Linked DNA regions of Homo sapiens: region 2 is linked to region 1. Evidence: promoter capture Hi-C in 16 types of primary human blood cells and fetal thymus (Javierre and others, 2016). All regions are on one chromosome and are shown on one strand. Each heading gives the region's core, a stretch centred on a gene start or on the middle of the fragment in contact. The rest is flanking DNA. Distances are from core to core; before and after follow the strand shown.

Region 1 (4,409 bases), core at 1,296-3,795:
GAGTTTTGCTGATTTGGGTCTGAGTTCTGGGTTGGCCCAGGAGATGTATAAACTTACCAAATTACTTGACTATTTTGAGACGACCTTTCTTCATCTATAAAACTAGAATACTATCGCCTGATCTGTAGATTATGGAGAAGATAAGAAGCATTGTGGTGTTGTAGGCTAATACTCTGAAGTATTAACGGGGATCTTGCCTCCCTTCTCCCAATGCTAACTTTTTGTGTTCTCAGGGTTGTGTTGTTACTTTAGAAACACAGGGAGAAAGAAACCAGTGTTTCCTCATTTTTTGCTTTTTAAAGTAGATTTTAAATACTCTGGTAGAGAGAAGGGATTTAAAGATAAGGGCTTTGAAACTGCAAACACTTGGTCTTCTGAGCATCAATGCATGGTATACTGACCTACACACTAGGAAAATAAGAAAAATCTCCCCTTGCCACATCCAGAGTGAATAAATTGATAATAAGTACTACAAAAAGGTGATTTGGAAGTATTAATTAAAACTGAAAAGGCATGTACACCATGAACTAGCAATCCAACTGCTAGGTATCTACCCTCTAGAAATTATTGCATTCGTATGTACACAAGGAGACACGCCCAAGGCTATTAACTGAAGCATTTATTTTTATGACAAAAATGAGGAAAATCTATAAGACCATTCGTTTTGAAATGAATTCAAAAATGAGGTCATTCATAAAAGGGAATACTATGCAGCAGATAAAAGCAATCAACTAGATATATATTAACTTAGAACCATCTAAAAATACTTTGTTAAGTAAGAAAGGCAAGTTGTGGGATGACAAATACAACACGATAAAATTTAGTTTACAATAAAACACAGCAATAGTATACTAAAGATTGTACATGCCTGTATACTAAAGGTTGTATACAGACATATAGACAGATACCACCTTTAGTATATTAATATAATTAAAATTGTCATAGAAGGATAGAAAGATTTACATGCAAATCATATATTAGCAGTGGTATTTTGGAGGAGGAAGATAAAATTAGGATTGAGGGTGATGGACAAAGAAGACTTCAGCTCAATCTGTAATGTCCCGAATGAGGAAAAAAAAAAAAATCCCAAAGTTTCCGAAGCCAGAAGGAAGTGAAGAAGAGAGTTAAAAGGGGGCAGATATTGGTGATGGTTGCCAAGGAGGGCTTGGAATCTTGCCTTACACTCTGCTGTTGCTTTTAAATGCGGAGAAGGTTGGAGGAAAAAGAGGTCGCATCTGATAATATTGATCAGACTCAAAGAAGATGCGTGCCTCATGCCCTCCTGTCTGGTGCCCAGAGGTGGCAGCTGCTCAGAGGTCACTAGGTCACCATGGCAGAAGCACCGATGACCTGAATGCCTGTGGTAATGAATTCTTCCTTAGTCTTGCCTAAGACGTAAACTCAGCTGGGCGAACACCTTGATTTCAGTGTTGAGACCCTGAACAGGGAACCTTGTTGTAAGCTGCTAAGTTTGTGGTGATTTGCTATGCAGAATGGGGCCACAACAGGCAGCTTCGAGGCAAGTTATACAAAAATGAAATGACTGATCTTGCTCGCCTGAATACGATGGATTAAAAATATTATACACACTTTACATGTAAATGAGCAATGTATTGTCTCACACATAAGAAATCCTAGTTCTACTTGGGTTGTGGATTTTCTCCCCTCATTGCTGTAGGGGCCTTTCTTGCCTTCGTCCCTCCAAGGGAATATTCAGCACCTGCCATACCTCTTCTGAGCACACTGTCTTTTCTCGACAGCCCAGGTGAGGTACATTCCTGGTGCTCCCCAATCTATTCATATCAAGGCTGTACCCAGCTTTATCAAGGAAGACAATGTCCCTATAGGGCCAGGAAACAAGATCCCTCCCACCTTCTTTCAGACATTTTCTATGAACTTCTCCGAGGCCTTGGGGCCACGGCCTCATTAAAAGGACTGTTCTCTGGAGGCTCAGCAACGGAGGTCCTATCGGTACCCAGGATGACAACAGGAGAAAGTGATCAGCCGGTCATAAGGATTTCAAAAAAAAAAAAAAAAAAGAATATCTAAAAGTACTTATTAGAAATGAGAGTCACCAAATGTTTTACTTCAGGTATATCTATTATTTCATAGGTAATATGTAACTTCCTGAGAATCAAGACTGTAGGTCAGACCCAAATGAAGCAGTGATAACCCCGGGCTAAGAGCCCTCAGTTTACGGTGATTTTCTGAGTAGAAGGTATCATTCCTATGTTTAATATTCCTTCCTCATCCTGACTCAACAGCTATTCCATAGCATTAGGATATTTTGAGTCAAGGAAGTTCACAGTCTACACTCATTGAATTGAATGATATTGGTGAGGGGACCTACAGGAAGTCTTTCCTTGTAATGCTCAGGAATAAACAGGTGGTGGGAACAGAGATCCTTGTCAGCCCAGTGACCTTCGCACTTTATAAGTAATCCCAGGCAAGAGTTCTAGGAATGCAGCCTGCATGAGGGCTCAGGGCATGGTCAGATAGGGGCAGACCAGGGGCAGGTGCCTGGCTCCTCTCTGGGGTCAGAGCAGGCTCCCTCCCTGCCAGGTTGTGGGTGCAACATTCAGGGAATGGTTACTGAAGTGTTCCAGGCACCAGAGCTCAGGCAAGAAGTGGAAAACTGCGCAAGATCCTGCACGTGGGTACCATCAGTGCCTTTGTGGGGAAGTTACATCTGTGTGTATGTATATATACTTAGTATATATATACGATATACTTAGTGTACTTATATCGTGTATATATACTATGTACTTAGTATACTTACTTATATACAATGTACATATACTTAGTGTATATATACATTGCATGTTGAACTTACTATATATATACACACACACTACACACACACACTAATTGGTCCGCTAATTGGCTGTTGCATTTTGAACTTGGTATGTGTGTATATATACATGTGTGTGAGTATATATACACACATATATACGTATGTATATACATATCATATACATACATGTGTATAGATATGTGTGTATATATGTATATGTGTGTATATGTATATGTGTTTATATATGTATATATGTATTTATGTATATATACACACACACTAAATTCAATAGATATATATGCGTGTGTGTATATACACACACACACACACACACACACACACACACTGAGTTCAAAATGCAAGAGCCAATTAGTGGGCCAATATGAGAATTAAAAAAGAAAAAAATGTACAGCAAATTGAATAGGACGTATCAGAATGCATACCACATAATGACAATCAATATCACTTCATTAAATTTTTGCTCGACATACACACACGTATAAAATTATGTCTATAGTCATGATGTACGTACAATGTATTTTGTGTTGAATAATGTTGGAAAGCCACTGCAGTGGATATTTTGACATCTTTTATTAATATTTAAAAGAAGAGGGTGAAACAAAAAATGTGAAAAAAGACAAAAAAGTTTGACAGTACTGAATTTAGGAGAAATTGAAGGTTAGTTCTAGGAAATTTGCCTTCTTCCCCCTAGTTATGGCAAAAAATAACTTTTCTGGGGTTATAAGTCTGTGAAATATATAGGTAAATTTAAAAAATTTAAAAATGTGTAAATATCCAGTGTGAAATACATGTGAGATTGCTTACAGAAACGGACAAGGCCAATATACATGTGAGGCTTCTGGTTATAATGAATTCCAAGGAGATAAACTCATTTCATGTCCTCTGAGCCAACCGGGCAGTACCTACTTGGGAAAAATGTTTGAGGGCTCTCGATTTTTAAACCTGCTGAACCAATTAAAAGCGTATAAATTTTTCTAGAAGTCTAAATTAATTCTACGTCTATAATAATAATTATTTTTTTAAGTGATGATATGGGAAAAACCCAAAATATCTTTGCAACATACAGCCGTGCGTTTTTTCTCAGACCAACTATTTAGTGCCTCTTCCCTATTTGTAATCCAGTCTGCGTCATTTTTCAGGGCTTGTTTTGGGTCTCTGACTGCCTTCTTTGCTTAGAGTGTCTCTGTTTTCTGTCATAATTCACTATAGCATTCAACGGCTAAAATGACTTTTAAAACTACCTGGTGAATGGCAATACCACATCAAACCACTAGGTGGCAAAGCAGACTCGGAGAACGACCTCTCTGCCAGCAGGCGCTGAAGCAGCTACCCGTTCCCCATGCTGGTGACCAGGAACTTCAGCTTAGCTCAGTCATGCAGTTCGCGGAGGATATCAAACAGAGTCAACAAAGCTTTGCAATCAAACGTGTCTTTAAAGGGAATCCAACTTGTGAACCTGGCTCTTGATATTCATTTGAAGCTGCAAGGGGGAAAAGATGTTACCTAATATGGAGCAATGGCTCTTATTGTGAACAAAACATCTCTGAACACCAAAACCGGAATAAAATTCTATTTAAAAAGGGGAATTTTTTTT
Region 2 (4,185 bases), core at 632-3,131, 3.8 Mb after region 1:
GAATCCCCCTCCACACCTCAGGCTTCCCAGGGCGGCCTCAGGGGCCCGGTCTCTAGCCCAAATGCCAGAAGGTGTTACTGGTGAGATCCGCTGAAGAGCAGGCCACGTGTGTACTGATGATGCTGAGACTGGCGAAGGTTTTCTCTGAAGCAAGATGAAAGAGGAGCGTTCCTTCCCACCTTGCCATCTTCTAGACTTGATTTCAGCCTTGCCGGGCCCAGGGCTGTGGGAAGCGCGGGGCCGCGCGGTGTCGCTGGCTTGGGCCAATGTGGCTGCTTTGCCAGGTTTCTAGAACCAAAAATGTTGGGGTGAATTACGGGCCTGGGAGCTACTTCTGTGTTTTCTGGGGACTCCCAGCCCTCCCAGAGGTGGGACGGTGGTCACCAAAATTGTTCAGTGGTGGAGTGTTTTGGGTTTTGTTTTGTTTTTAGGGTGTGTGGCGGTCAAAGATGGAGCAGAGTGGTGCAAAAGGCTCAAGCTCTGGAATCAAACAGATCCCAGTCTCAGTCCAGCTCTCCACCAGCTCTGCCCCCTCGAGCCAGCTCTCTGCACCCCACTTCCTCATCCATAAAATGCTGTTGATAATAGTACCTGCCTCATGTAGTAGGTGTATCAAAGGAAACTGCTGGGGATTCGTATGCTGTCTAGCACACTGGATGTACTCAATGCATATGAGCAATACTATTACTATCGTTAGGCACGAGGGAAAGAGGGAAGGAAGTCGAAGAAGACTCGGGTTTTAGACAGAGCGAGTCGGGGAAAGGTGGTGTCTTGGGCTGGATGAGGAACCCAGGCGTGCAAGTGCATTTGGGAAACCTGTGAATTCCAGTTTTGGAAGTGCTGAATTTAGGATGCCTGGGGGACATGGATGGAAGCGGCCACTGCATGTTGAGAAGAGAGACTGGGCTGGAGTTGGAGATGGGGGATTCACAGCACATAAGGGGAGGTCTGGGCCAGCAGAGGACAGGAGGTCATTTGGAAAGGGAGCTTCCAATAGGAAGAAGACAGAACCCAGAGGGCCCAGCATGCAGAGGTGGTGGGAAGAAGGAAGCCCACAGGGGTGCGGGGGATTGTTGCAGATGGAGGAGGGAGGCCATCAGAAGGGACCCTGCCGAGGGAGAGGAGACCTCAGCCAGCACCCACTGGGTGCCTCACTTCTACTGAGCAGCCTACAAAGATAGGTGAGACCCTGGCGTGGCTCTGAAGAAACTGACAGACTCTAGGAGCTCCTGCAATTCTGTTTAATTGCTTCTTTTCTTTCTTCTCTCTTCCTTATGAACAAAGACTCTTCAGTCTTTGCTTATAAGGTAGAGCCTGTGGGAGCTCAGAGGCTCAGCCCTCTGTGTAGGGGGCAGGTCTGCTGAATGCATTACGTGGGTGGGCTGGCCAGACCAGATGTCCCGAGTTGCCTTCCAGATCCACGGAGCTTCCCCCGGGGCATCATGGCACACCGCCCCAGACAGTCGGTAGTTTGAGAAGAGAGTTAAATGCTCTGTTCGGGAAGGAAGGAAGTGTTGGAGGTCTCTAGGAATGCTATGCAGCTATATTACCATCTTTGGGATAGCAAAAGTTACATGCATTTCAAATTAATTTTAAAGCATGTCTAGCTTTGCAACAAAGCCACACATGTCTAGGGCAGGCAAGAAGCTAGATTTATGCAAATCGAATGATTAAATGTAAACACGTGTTAGAGGGAGCCTGATGGCTGGGCTCGGTGGCTCATGCCTGTAATCCCAGCACTTTAGGAGGCCAAGGCGGGTGGATCACCAGAGGTCAGGAGTTCAAGACCAGCCTGTCCAACATGATGAAACCCTGTCTCTACTGAAAATACAAAAACATTAGCCGGGCATGGTGGTGTGCACCTGTATTCCCAGCTACTTGAGAGGCTGAGGCACGAGAATCACTTGAAAGCAGGAAGTAGAAGCTGCAGTGAGCTGAGATAGTGCCACTGCACTCCAGCCTGGACAATAGAGTGAGACTCTGTCTCAAAAAAAAAAAAAAAAAAAAGCCTGATGATGAATGGGGTTGATGTGCTCAATATTTGCTCACATGGCTCAGCTGGTTAGTGTGGAGCTGCACCTCATCCACCCTACTGCCTGTCAAATTCTGCTCCCATTGTGATGAAAGACAGCCCCAATGCAAATATGTAAAAGATGCTCTCTATATACCCACTTTCTCTAGTAGGGCAACTCTGTCCAACTTCTTGCCCATATTCTGATAAGAGTGCACAGATTGTGAGCACAATTTGAACAGTGACTTTTAGCACTGTGCAAGGAAATCTTGAAATGCCAGTAACATCCAGGTTAGTTAATTTATAGGTACATAATGATGAAGAGGAAGATAGTACAAGAACAAAACACAGGTCTCTTGTGCTTAATGGGCCAGGAGTTGTTTTAAGTACTTTACGTGCAATAACTTGATCCTTACAACAACCATCACAAATGAGGAAACTGAGGCAGAGGTTAGGTAACTTGCCCAAGATTGCACAGTGAATAAGTGGGGGAGGCAGGATTTGAACCCAGGCAGGCTGCCTGCCTCAGAGTCCTTTTCTTTAGATACTATGGTAGCCACATCTCTGCATGATCTCATGTGACTTGATTAGCTTAACACAGCTTTTTCAAAAACTAAAATTTCTTTATCCTCTCCCTATTCCTAGTTTCTCCTTCCTTTCTTCCTTCCTTCCTTCCCTTCCCTCCTTCCCTTCCTTTCCTTCCTTCCCTTCCTTTCCTTCCTTCCTTCCTTCCCTTCCCTTCCTTCCTTCCCTTCCTTTCCTTCCTTCCCTTCCCTTCTTTTCCCTTCCCTTCCTTTCTTCCTTTCCCTTCCTTCCTTCCCTTCCTTTCCTTCCTTCCCTTCCCTTCCCTTCCCTTCCCTTCCCTTCTTTTCCCCTTCCCTTCCTTTCTTCCTTTCTGATGGAGTCTCATTCTTTCGCCCAGGCTGGAGTGCAGTGGCACAATCTTGACTCACTGCAGCCTCCGCCTCCCAGGTTCAAGAGATTCTCCTGCCTCAGCCTCCCAAGTAGTTGGGATTACATGTGCACACCATCACACCCAGCTAATTTTTGTATTTTTAGTAGACATGGTGGGGAGGTTTCGCCATGTTGGCCAGGCTGGACTCGAACTCCTGACCTCAAGTGATACACTTGCCTCAGCCTCCCAAAGTGCTGGGATTACAAGTGTGAGCCACCGCGCCTGGCCCTATTTTCATTTCTTTCTAATAGTTAGTGCTCTCTCTATCTCCTGCACTTGCTAATTCACATATATTCTCCCTTCAAATCTGCCTTGACAGCCTTCTGTTTTCAAGGGCCTCACAGCTACCTGGTTCCTTCTCTCAAAAGTTCCCTCTTCTGCAGGTAACTTCTCACTCACTTCCCTTGGACCACCCCTCTGTCTCTGTTAGTGTGAGGTGGGTTGTGTCCAGGGCCATCCACCAGAGGAAAGGGGAGAGAAGCCATACTTCTTGGGTCCAACGGGAGTCAAGGAGATCAAGGACCAGGTGTTGAGACCCGTATTTTGGTTTGGGAGGCTACAGGCAAGGTAGAAATGGAAGGCTGTTCTTGGCCGGGCACAATGGCTCACGCCTGTAATCCCAGCACTTTGGGAGGCTGAGGCAGGTGGATCACCGGTGAATTCCACAGACACTTAAAAGCAAAAATAATAATTTGTTGAATACAGTGAGTTCTAAATTTCTCTTCAAAGAATCAGTATGTCAGTATGTTCAGTTCTTTGTTCTCCATTTTAAAGTTGAACTTCCTCGTTCTCCTCAGCCCTAGTTTCACTAAACAACCTTTTCCAACAGTTCTAATCAGTAGTTAACGTCTATTCCCCTGGTCACCTGCTCCATTCTGAGTCACCCCTGGTCACCTGCTCCATTCTGAGTCACCCCTGGTCGCCTGCTCCATTCTGAGTCACCCCTGGCCACCTGCTCCATTCTGAGTCACCCCTGGCCACCTGCTCCATTCTGAGTCACCCCTGGCCGCCTGCTCCATTCTGAGTCACCCCTGGCCGCCTGCTCCATTCTGAGTCACCCCTGGCCGCCTGCTCCATTCTGAGTCACCCCTGGCCGCCTGCTCCATTCTGAGTCACCCCTGGCCACCTGCTCCATTCTGAGTCACCCCTGGTCACCTGCTCTGACCTGAATCATCCTGAGTCACCTGTTCTGTAACCACCCTTCCCACCAAACTACTCA

The links. Contacts are between HindIII fragments. The CHiCAGO score rates a contact against its expected background, and 5 or more counts as called.
Region 2: a fragment that was not itself captured here is called in contact with the fragment with the promoter of CHRM3-AS1 in region 1 in 1 of 17 cell types (total B cells); the score reaches 5.7 in total B cells.

The regions. Positions count from the first base shown.
Region 1 is chr1:239,898,008-239,902,416 of GRCh38, reverse strand. CHRM3-AS1 (CHRM3 antisense RNA 1) reads left to right here and starts at 2,545. Exons shown (of 2, transcript NR_046582.1): 1 at 2,545-2,653; 2 at 4,025-4,398. All of the region lies in intron 6 of CHRM3 (cholinergic receptor muscarinic 3), which reads right to left. The HindIII fragment of the contact is 7,774 bases long and covers 1-4,229 here.
Region 2 is chr1:236,097,045-236,101,229 of GRCh38, reverse strand. No RefSeq gene overlaps it. Among named protein-coding and RNA genes, the nearest start is that of NID1, 34 kb to the right of the region's middle. RefSeq lists enhancers at 3,474-3,976, 3,707-4,001, 3,977-4,185, 3,427-4,185. The HindIII fragment of the contact is 9,622 bases long and covers 1-4,185 here.